Regions from separate parts of the Homo sapiens genome. Here region 2 is linked to region 1. The links are contacts of gene promoters, found by promoter capture Hi-C in blood cells and fetal thymus (Javierre and others, 2016). All regions are on one chromosome and are shown on one strand. Each heading gives the region's core, a stretch centred on a gene start or on the middle of the fragment in contact. The rest is flanking DNA. Distances are from core to core; before and after follow the strand shown. Region 1 holds the start of UGT2A1 (UDP glucuronosyltransferase family 2 member A1 complex locus). Region 2 holds the start of CABS1 (calcium binding protein, spermatid associated 1).

Region 1 (4,849 bases), core at 1,327-3,826:
TGGGACAGTGCCAGGGTGCAGCTAGATGGAGTTTCTTTACATGAGAGTCTAAGAACATTGTTTCAAGAGAGTGACGGCAAGAGTCGATATCCAAAACTTAAGTGAAGCCACCTTAGACAATCTGTCTGAGTGGAGTGTGTTAGGGTTCTCCAGAGAAAGAGAACCAACAGGATGTGTGTGAGAGTGTGTATATATGTATGTGTGTAGAGAGACAGATATGTACATTTATTTTAAGGAAATGCTTCATACAGTCGTGGAAGCTTGGTAAGTCCAAAATATGCAAGGTAGGCCAGCAGGCTTGAGACTCAGGGAAGAGTTGCAATTTGAGTCCAAAAGCAGTCTGCTGGCAGAATTCCTTCTTACTTAGGTCTGATGTCAATTATTGTCTATTAAGGCCTTCAACTAACTGGATGAGGCCCACCCGCATTGTGAAGAATAATCCAGTAAAATATTATCTCATTCCCAAAACACATAGACAGAAATATTTAGAATGACGTTTGACCAAATATCTGGGGACTATCATCCAGCCAAGTCGATACAAAAATTAACCATCACATAGAACCACCAGGATGACTTTTGCTGCATGAGGTATATACAGGGAAATCAGTAGAACTGTCCAACTGAGCCCAGCACAAACTTCTCACCCAAAAAATTGGTAGCAAATAAAATGATTGTTGGTTGAAGCTACTAAATTTGAAGTGACTTTTTTCACAGCAATACACAACTGATACACATAGGAAAAATAACTCAGAAATTAAAATGAAAAGAAAACATTTGACATGAATTTTTCAAAATGCTTTTTAAACATTGATAAAAATTATTATCATACATGGTATGAAATATGGTTGTTTTACAAAGAAGTTTATTGGTTAACCTTGAAGTTGATGATACTTTATTCAGTATTTCTCATTAATTATAAGTGGTGAAAATTGTTGTCATTGAATTGGGTAAAATGAGTCATTTCCAAGAAAAGCTTCACCAATTTAAAATATTTTCTTGTTATAGAGTTAGTCCCATGAAGCCTGTTAGTCTTCATGGGAGGGTGAGTAGAATAACAGTAATCTTTTACACCTAGAAATATATTGGAATCATAGGGAGTCTTCAGGCCTACTGTGTCCAGTGTTCATTATAAATTTTTCTTATTTCGAGTCTCTCTTTTGTCTAGTTGGGAATCATGCTGTTCAATATTTTCAGTTACTGGCTTTGCTCATTCTGTCCTAGATAGAAATTTAACCACCTGTAGCAAGTAAAAATCTTGGACAAGCAAAAAAACTTTTATATTACAGTTAATATATTTGATATAAATTTTACAGTACAGAGAACCAAACAGAAAAGAAGCTTTTTTAAAAAAAAATTAGTTATCAATTATTTGGCTTAAAAGGAATGTGTGTGTGTGTGTGTGTGTGTGTGTGTGTATTTGTGACTGGGATTATAAAAAGATAATAGAGTATGATCAAATAGATTTGAGTGAAAACTACAGGAATTAAAAATATTAATTAACACCCATGCTGTGTTCCAAGTGTGAAGGCAAAAGATATATTACTGCAAGTGTAAAGACTCAGAAAAGTTTCTATTTGAGGGCTCATGTTGAAATATTTGCATGAAGACTCATTTTATTTAGCTGAGAAGTTAATTACATTAGCTATTCAAAATGGAGAAATCATTGTATGAAACACACACATTACTTCTCTTTTATCAAGATTGAACTTGCACTCCATGAATTGATGAATATTTGTAGTCAGATGTATGCAATCCAAGCTGACTTGAACTTAAAGACTTGCTTGGGGCCTCCACTGTTCTTCTTTATTTCCTCTTCAATGTTATCATACAAAGTGTGTCTCTGCCGGACTATGCCATACTTATCAGCTGTATGAAATTTATTTCCACATTTCCATAAGTTTGCTTATCAGCAAAAACAACAAGTGGTGATGTTCTATCTCAGTACTTAGTTATTACTAAATATGACATATTTGGGATGCTATGCCAAAAAACATACTAAGTTATTTTTTGCTACTTCAAAATATTTGCACAAAGAAACAGCAGTAATTTTATTCCCCAAGGATGGTGCATAATGAAGGTGTGCAACTCTAAAAAAGTTATTTCATTATCTAAATTACTATCTTCTTTATTTATGGCAAAGATCAATCAAACCACCCACTTTCATCATCATGAATCAGGAAAATATATATATATAAATAAAAATAAAGACATTTTAATTTTTAAAACTTTTTTCATAATAATATAATAATTGTTTGTTTCATAAGTTTGAGGGATATTAATTGCTCATACTTATTCATAACAATCTCAAGATTACTAATTATTGTCAATCTTATTTTAGATATATCCTGGCATACTTGGTTAGTTGGGGTAGGGGCAGAGACCATGATAGTAAATGCAAAATTCAGGGCAAATAGTTGCTAGGGAACCAACAGAAGGTTACACCTTTGACAAAAGGTTAATCTGCTTCACAGTGTAGTGGGTGGAAAATGTTAAGTATAAACAACTTTACATAATCTTTTTTCCATTTAAGATCATATTACTCATTATATTATGCTTATCCACCTAGGATTTATTTACATTCGGCTTCTTCCTAATGTCAAATGAGTGCTGTTAAAGTTCCTCCAGGAAACTTCAGGTAAGAAACTAGAAAACTTCATGATAATCAATATAAAATGTATATTTTAATTTATTTTCCATTCTCTTCTTAAAGAAATATCAATCTTTAAAACGCTGGTTTACCTTTTGGTTTGTTTCATTGCTTACCCATGAAAGCATTATTAGTTCTACTTTATAATTTGATGGATTTTTCTCCCAGATTTTATACTTCAAAATAATTTTACAGATATCGAGGGAACTGTGTGGACAGAGCAGTAAGTTGAGAGTTTTGTCTAAGTGTGAACTCAAAGTCCTCTTTAGGGATTCTTCTCATGCCTTTTGTTCCTACCAGTGGAGAGTTGTTTGTTCCTTCATTAGATGACACATAAAGTGACAAATAAGAAACTTTATACTGATATATGGTGAAGACAAGAATAATGTACACAAGTGACCACTGTGGTCCTTAAGACAACACATGAATGAGAGGATGTGAGATGTCATCTTTAGTGGGTATTTTATTTTCTTAATATTGTTTAATGGATTTTTAAATATTTATTTTAAAATCTATTTACTTTAAATATAAGTCAAATGTTTTATGCTATAAATCAAATAAGTTTTATGCAAAATCAATTTTATTTATTAAAAAAAGAAAATAATGGCCAGGCGCGGTGGCTCACCCCTGTAATCCCAGCACTTTGGGAGGCCGAGGAGGGTGGATCACCTCTGGTCAGAAGTTCAAGACCAGGTGAAACCCCGTCTCTACTAAATATACAAAAATTAGACAGGTGTGGTGGTGGTCGCCTATAATCCCAGCTACTCGGGAGGCTGAGGCAGGAGAATAGCTTGAACCCGGGAAATGGAGGTTGCAGTGACCCGAGATTATGCCCTTGCACTCCAGCTTGGACAACAAGAGCAAAACTTGGTCTCAAAAAAAAAAAAAAAAAAGGACATAAAGTTTTTCTAAAGAAAATGCTGTTGTAAAAGCAATAACCAATTGTGTTAATGTGAATGCCATGCTAACTCCTTTTGTATGCAGTTGTTAACCAGTAGAAGGCATCTGAGTTATCAGTGGCGAATCCTTACAGGTCTGAAGCAACTTCAATTCTTGCCTCCTCAGAAGTAAGAATTTGACTGGGGGGCATCAGGCAGATGAGACTGACGGGAGTTTCAGAGCAGGAGCGGAAGTTTATTTTAAAGGCTTTAGAACAGGAAAGAAAGGAAAACGTACTTGGAAGAGACTCAAGTGGGCACCTGAAGTGCCCCGTTTAACCTCGATCCTAGGACTTTATAGGCTCGCCTCTTTTCCATGATTCTTCCCTTAGGGTGGGCTGCCCACATGTGCAGTGCCCTTCTTACCCTTGGGAAATGAGCATGCACAGTCTGTTTAGGAAGTTGTATATATGCTCATCTGAGGCTTTCTTCCCTTTTTTGGTAAAGTGTCCTTGGATGGTCACACTTCAACATTTTGTCTCTTAATGCACGTGCCCAGGCAGTCGCTCCTCTCTGGCATCTGCATTCAATTAACACTTTAATGTTAACAGCTGTGGATCATAAAGAGCTTGTCTCTCCCTGGCACTACTGGCTGCAAAATTCTCATTTTTAGAGAGGCAGTGTGATAATCATGGAACTGTCACCTGACATTCCTAATGCCTATCTAATTACCTGTAACACAATTAAGCAAAGTATATATTTTATTATCATTCTCTAAGATGAAAATATTTGAGTATGCTAGCTTCTTCTGAAATACGTTAGTTTTTTTCTCTGAATTCATGAGCTTTCACAAATATAGTAATCATATTACACAGTTTATTTTTATTTTTAATTTTATGTGCACATAGTATATATAGGTATATATTTATGACATATTTGTGATGTTTTGATACAGGCATACAATGTGTTTCTTTCAAAATTTTTCTGGCAAGGGCAGATTAGCTTTTCAGTGATTTTAAGATCAGAGTAATTACAAACACAAATTCAGACCCACATTTTAGGCCAAATCTTTTTACTTAACAACCTCTTTAAGCCTTTTGTTGTGAATATAACTTCATTTAGTTTTCTATTAAATTCGAAAATACAAATCAATCTAAAATTTAACCTCACTAGTGTGAGAAATTTTTTAATACTGATCATATTTCTGAGGTATTTATGCTGTATCAGCACATCACATGTATCACATGAATTTATGCGTCTATTATGTACTCCACAAAAATTAAAATAGAAAACATTTAAAAACACTAAAGTTCATTAGTGGCAT
Region 2 (5,521 bases), core at 1,811-4,310, 680 kb before region 1:
TTCCAGAAAGGCTGGAGAAATTTGGAGAAAGTTTGGAAAATGAGTCAACAATGAATATGTACAATAATCACTGTCAATCCTCAAATGGCTAAAACTGATGTGTACTAGCTTTATTTTAATTTTTTGAATATGTCTATTGAATATTTTTCACATGTTCATTAACAATTTGTGTTTCATGAATTATGTTAATTTCTACTGTTCATTTAAAATACTTTGTAGAAACTTTTATAGAAAAATGATAGTAATCTTTTCACTGCTATGTAAAATAAAATTAGTTATTTACTTTTTAATTTTATGTTAATTTTCTTTGTTTCAGAATTTTAACTATTCATGGTGTCAAACCTATCAATCTTCTTATCACCTTTTCATATATGCTTACATTTCTCAGGTCCATTTGGATAGATATACAGGTACATTTCCTCCTAAGTTTTTGTATGGTTTTAGTTTTTACATTAAAGTATTTAATCCATGTAGAATTTATTTTAAAGTATGGTCTTAAAAAGAATTTAAAAATTTGTTTATTATTCCAACATATTTTTTTCCCAAATACTGATTGTTCAAGTAAGATTAACTATTATATCCCATGTTTTTGAAGTCCACTTCACTGTATAACAAATTTTTGTTTCGTAATTTGTTTCTGGGTTTTAACACACTGTTGTGATTATTCTAGTCTATAGTTTATCTAATGGTGCAAATCCCTATACAAACCCCCCGTACATAATATCTTTCATTCACTTGGTGTTTTGGCATTGTTCTTATTTCTTTTTTTAGTGTAATACAATTATGAATCTCTATAGAATAATTTTACTTCTGGGGATTAGAGCTATATTATTCTTTAAACAAACAATGAATTTTCATTTCTCTTTATTTCTCCTAATTTGAGAAGTCTGTAGTAGAATATCAAACACACCTACACACAGTAAATCAGTTGCTTGCCAAAAAGATTTATTGAAGAAAAATGAGCAAAGTGAAAACAGACCCATTTAAGTAGTCTGTGCCAGAAAAGAATGAAGATTTATGTCCTTGAATCGCTAACAAGAGTCATAAGAAGAGTGTGATATTCAGTGTTTAAGACCTGGAAAACATGGACAAAAATTCAGAAAACACATTTTAACAGAAAGAAAATTAAATTGATGTATATGTTTACAGAACATTTTTCTGACAAATATGCATATTTGTAAAATATCATTTTGCTTTAGTTTGTATCTAACATGTGCCAAGAACCCTATCATAAATCTTATGTATCTTACATGTGGGTGCTAAACAATTACTGAATTGTCTTAATTCTTATATGAGGATTAAAAATTTTTTAAATAGAAGAGAATCACTGATGAAATACTAATGAAAAAATTGCTTAGAACAAGCATTTTGGGAGAACTTTTTAGGCTATGGTAATGTTTTGGAGAGGTTAATTTGCTTCTCTTCATATCCTTAATTCTCACTTAAGTATAATATTGACTGTTAACTAAATGATATGCATCATTAAATGTTGTAGAAATGAGCCCCTACATTGCTCTGTCTTCATACTCCCTGAAGGCTAGGACGAAAAATTTTACATTAAGTAATTGTTAGAATATTGAAACTTTGTGATACTAGGGGGACCCTTACACTGCGGTTTTTTTTTCTAAGTTTCCGTAAATCTGTTACATGACCTGTAGTCCTAAGCATCTGCATTTATTGAGTCGAATACTTGCCTTAAATGCCCACATTCTTTCATTTCTAAAGGTTTTTGCTTGTTGGAAAAATTTCTTAGATGTTAAGGCTAGCTGGCTAGACTATTGCACAATTCTACATGGTATCCCTTTTGTTGCTTTTAAATCATGAACTCATCGGGTTCTTCTTTCAGTAGTTCAAAGATATCCGTTTCAGTTGTGGAGGTGTCTTCCTTATAGTCTGGGGTATCTAATACAGAGGTAGTTCCAGAAAATGGCTCAGTGATCTTAGGTACAGTCTCTGTATTATCAGTTTCAGACAAATCTTCTTCTGTAGATGATTCTTCCACTAGGTTTGTAGCTATTGATGCAGGGACAACGAAGTCATATCTGGATTCAACAGCAGTAAGCAAAACAGAATGGGTCTCTGCTTCATTTGCAGTATCTCTCTCCATCCAAATACTGGCTCCCTCGGTAGTTTCTTCATCAGTTAGCAGAGTATCTTCCCGTTTATCTTTGTCTTTTTCAGCAGAGGTAGTGAGTTCAAACACAGTGATAAACTTCTCATCAGAGTCAGTTAATGTAGCCACAGCACTGGTGTCATCTTCTAAAACACTTAGGTCAATTTCGGTTATTTTCTCTTCTTCAAGGGCAGTTATGTCTGGAATAGTAGTGAAGCTTTCTTCAGGAGCAGGAGGGATTTCAGCCTCAGGAATAGTGGAATCAGTGACCTGGACAGCCTCATCAGCAGGGACATTGGATTTGATGGAGGAATTATAATTGCTCATATCAGCTTCATCCTTTTTACGTGGAAAGGCAGGAGCGTCAGCAACACCAGCACTGCTGTCCTTTAGTGTGCCAGAGACTTCAGAGGTTATTGAGATCTCTGCATCTCCTGTGTCAATGGTAGCTAAGAGGATATCTTCTTTTGCTATGTCAGTGGAAAAATCTATTAAAGAAACAGTAGTAACTGGTGATGAAATATTCCCAATTTTCACTGGCATGAAATGTTCGGTAATAGAGTCTCTTGTTATGGAGTTTGTAGTGCCAGTCAGAGAGGTAATTTCTTTCTGTAGGTGAGTTGTTGACTTAATAAAGTCGGTCCCCATATCATCTTCTGATTTGAGTTTTTCCTTTTTAGCTGTCAGTTTGTTGTCTGTAGTTGTTGAAAAATCGCTTTCTAGCATATATTCATTTACTGAAGTGACGTGGTCTCCTTCTGAAGTAATAGTTGTTTCTGATTTGGGAATAGCATTGTCAGCCCCAAAGAAAATGGTTGCTGCAGTTGGTGTTTTACTGCTTTCTGTTGGAGGATGAGAATAAATTTTGGGCAAACCATCTTCAGCCATGGGGCGAAGTGGCACTGTGCACTCTCACAGGTCTTGCTTCTGGACTCAGTGGTATCTCTAGGCAGGAGAGCAGTGTTCATCAGAGTGATTAAAGCTTGGGTCATCATGGTGATTGTTGCATCAACTATGGGAGCAATGTCACTGGGTCTCCTTGGAGGTTGTTTCTAGGCTGCGATTGGTTATCTAATTGCAGGAATATTGAATGAAAAGACTATAGAGTCCGCTCTGATTATGAAATCAAATTCACAGCCAAGCATTTCAATTGCAGGGAACTTAAGATTTACCATGTTTCTGTTTATAAGGAAAATGTCTCCTGATATAGAGCTAGGGTTACTTGAAACAGACATAGCAGAGACTGCCAGGCACCTTTTGGGTTTAGAATTAGTAAGGAAAACTTTGGAAGCCACAAGTTTATCAGCATCAGCTTAAAGTCGTCTATCTTCCAAGCAAGTAACAGAGTATTTTTGAGGTGAAGCCATTTTCCCTTAAGATTCATAGTATTAAAAAAAATTGGTATCTAAAAAAATTAATGGTGTTTTTGTCAGTAAGTATAGCTACAGAAGGTAATTAGGTAGCAGGGAATTCAGTTAGTTCCCTTATTCATAACAGGAAGTCCCACTTTTTCAGTAGAGATAATAACTAATAGTTATTGGCCTGTTTGGGTCTTTTTTTTTTTTTTTTCTTTTTTTGTTTTTTGTTTTTTTTTTTTTCATTTATTTTTATTTTATTTTATTTTATTTTTTTTATTATACTCTAAGTTTTAGGGTACATGTGCACATTGTGCAGGTTAGTTACATATGTATACATGTGCCATGCTGGTGCGCTGCACCCACTAATGTGTCATCTAGCATTAGGTATATCTCCCAATACTATCCCTCCCCCCTCCCCCAACCCCACCACAGTCCCCAGAGTGTGATATTCCCCTTCCTGTGTCCATGTGATCTCATTGTTCAATTCCCATCTATGAGTGAGAATATGCGGTGTTTGGTTTTTTGTTCTTGCGATAGTTTACTGAGAATGATGGTTTCCAATTTCATCCATGTCCCTACAAAGGATATGAACTCATCATTTTTTATGGCTGCATAGTATTCCATGGTGTATATGTGCCACATTTTCTTAATCCAGTCTATCATTGTTGGACATTTGGGTTGGTTCCAAGTCTTTGCTATTGTGAATAGTGCCGCAATAAACATACGTGTGCATGTGTCTTTATAGCAGCATGATTTATACTCATTTGGGTATATACCCAGTAATGGGATGGCTGGGTCAAATGGTATTTCTAGTTCTAGATCCCTGAGGAATCGCCACACTGACTTCCACAATGGTTGAACTAGTTTACAGTCCCACCAACAGTGTAAAAGTGTTCCTATTTCTCCACATCCTCTCCAGCACCTGTTGTTTCCTGACTTTTTAATGATTGCCATTCTAACTGGTGTGAGATGATATCTCATAGTGGTTTTGATTTGCATTTCTCTGATGGCCAGTGATGATGAGCATTTCTTCATGTGTTTTTTGGCTGCATAAATGTCTTCTTTTGAGAAGTGTCTGTTCATGTCCTTCGCCCACTTTTTGATGGGGTTGTTTGTTTTTTTCTTGTAAATTTGTTTGAGTTCATTGTAGATTCTGGATATTAGCCCTTTGTCAGATGAGTAGGATGCGAAAATTTTCTCCCATGTTGTAGGTTGCCTGTTCACTCTGATGGTAGTTTCTTTTGCTGTGCAGAAGCTCTTTAGTTTAATTAGATCTCATTTGTCAATTTTGTCTTTTGTTGCCATTGCTTTTGGTGTTTTGGACATGAAGTCCTTGCCCACGCCTATGTCCTGAATGGTAATGCCTAGGTTTTCTTCTAGGGTTTTTATGGTTTTAGGTTTAACGTTTAAATCTTTAATCCATCTTGAATTGATTTTTGTATAAGGTGTAAGGAAGGGATCCAGTTTCAGCTTTCTACATATGGCTAGCCAGTTTTCCCAGCACCATTTATTAAATAGGGAATCCTTTCCCCATTGCTTGTTTTTCTCAGGTTTGTCAAAGATCAGATAGTTGTAGATATGCGGCATTATTTCTGAGGGCTCTGTTGTGTTCCATTGATCTATATCTCTGTTTTGGTACCAGTACCATGCTGTTTTGGTTACTGTAGCCTTGTAGTATAGTTTGAAGTCAGGTAGTGTGATGCCTCCAGCTTTGTTCTTTTGGCTTAGGATTGACTTGGCAATGCGGGCTCTTTTTTGGTTCCATATGAACTTTAAAGTAGTTTTTTCCAATTCTGTGAAGAAAGTCATTGGTAGCTTGATGGGGATGGCATTGAATCTATAAATTACCTTGGGCAGTATGGCCATTTTCACGATATTGATTCTTCCTACCCATGAGCATGGAATGTTCTTCCATTTGTTTGTGTCCTCTTTTATTTCCTTGAGCAGTGGTTTGTAGTTCTCCTTGAAGAGGTCCTTCACATCCCTTGTAAGTTGGATTCCTAGGTATTTTATTCTCTTTGAAGCAATTGTGAATGGGAGTTCACCCATG

The links. Contacts are between HindIII fragments. The CHiCAGO score rates a contact against its expected background, and 5 or more counts as called.
Region 2: a contact is called between the fragment with the promoter of CABS1 here and the fragment with the promoter of UGT2A1 in region 1, in 5 of 17 cell types (naive B cells, monocytes, M0 macrophages and 2 more). The highest score is 6.5, in naive B cells.

Annotation. Positions count from the first base shown.
Region 1 is chr4:69,650,974-69,655,822 of GRCh38, reverse strand. It overlaps UGT2A1 (UDP glucuronosyltransferase family 2 member A1 complex locus), which reads left to right and starts at 2,576. Exons shown (of 7, transcript NM_001252275.3): 1 at 2,576-2,635. The HindIII fragment of the contact is 6,501 bases long and covers 1,341-4,849 here.
Region 2 is chr4:70,332,520-70,338,040 of GRCh38, reverse strand. CABS1 (calcium binding protein, spermatid associated 1) reads right to left here and starts at 3,060. Exons shown (of 2, transcript NM_033122.4): 1 at 1,695-3,060; 2 at 925-1,075. The coding sequence starts at 3,001. The coding sequence ends at 1,814. The HindIII fragment of the contact is 765 bases long and covers 2,333-3,097 here.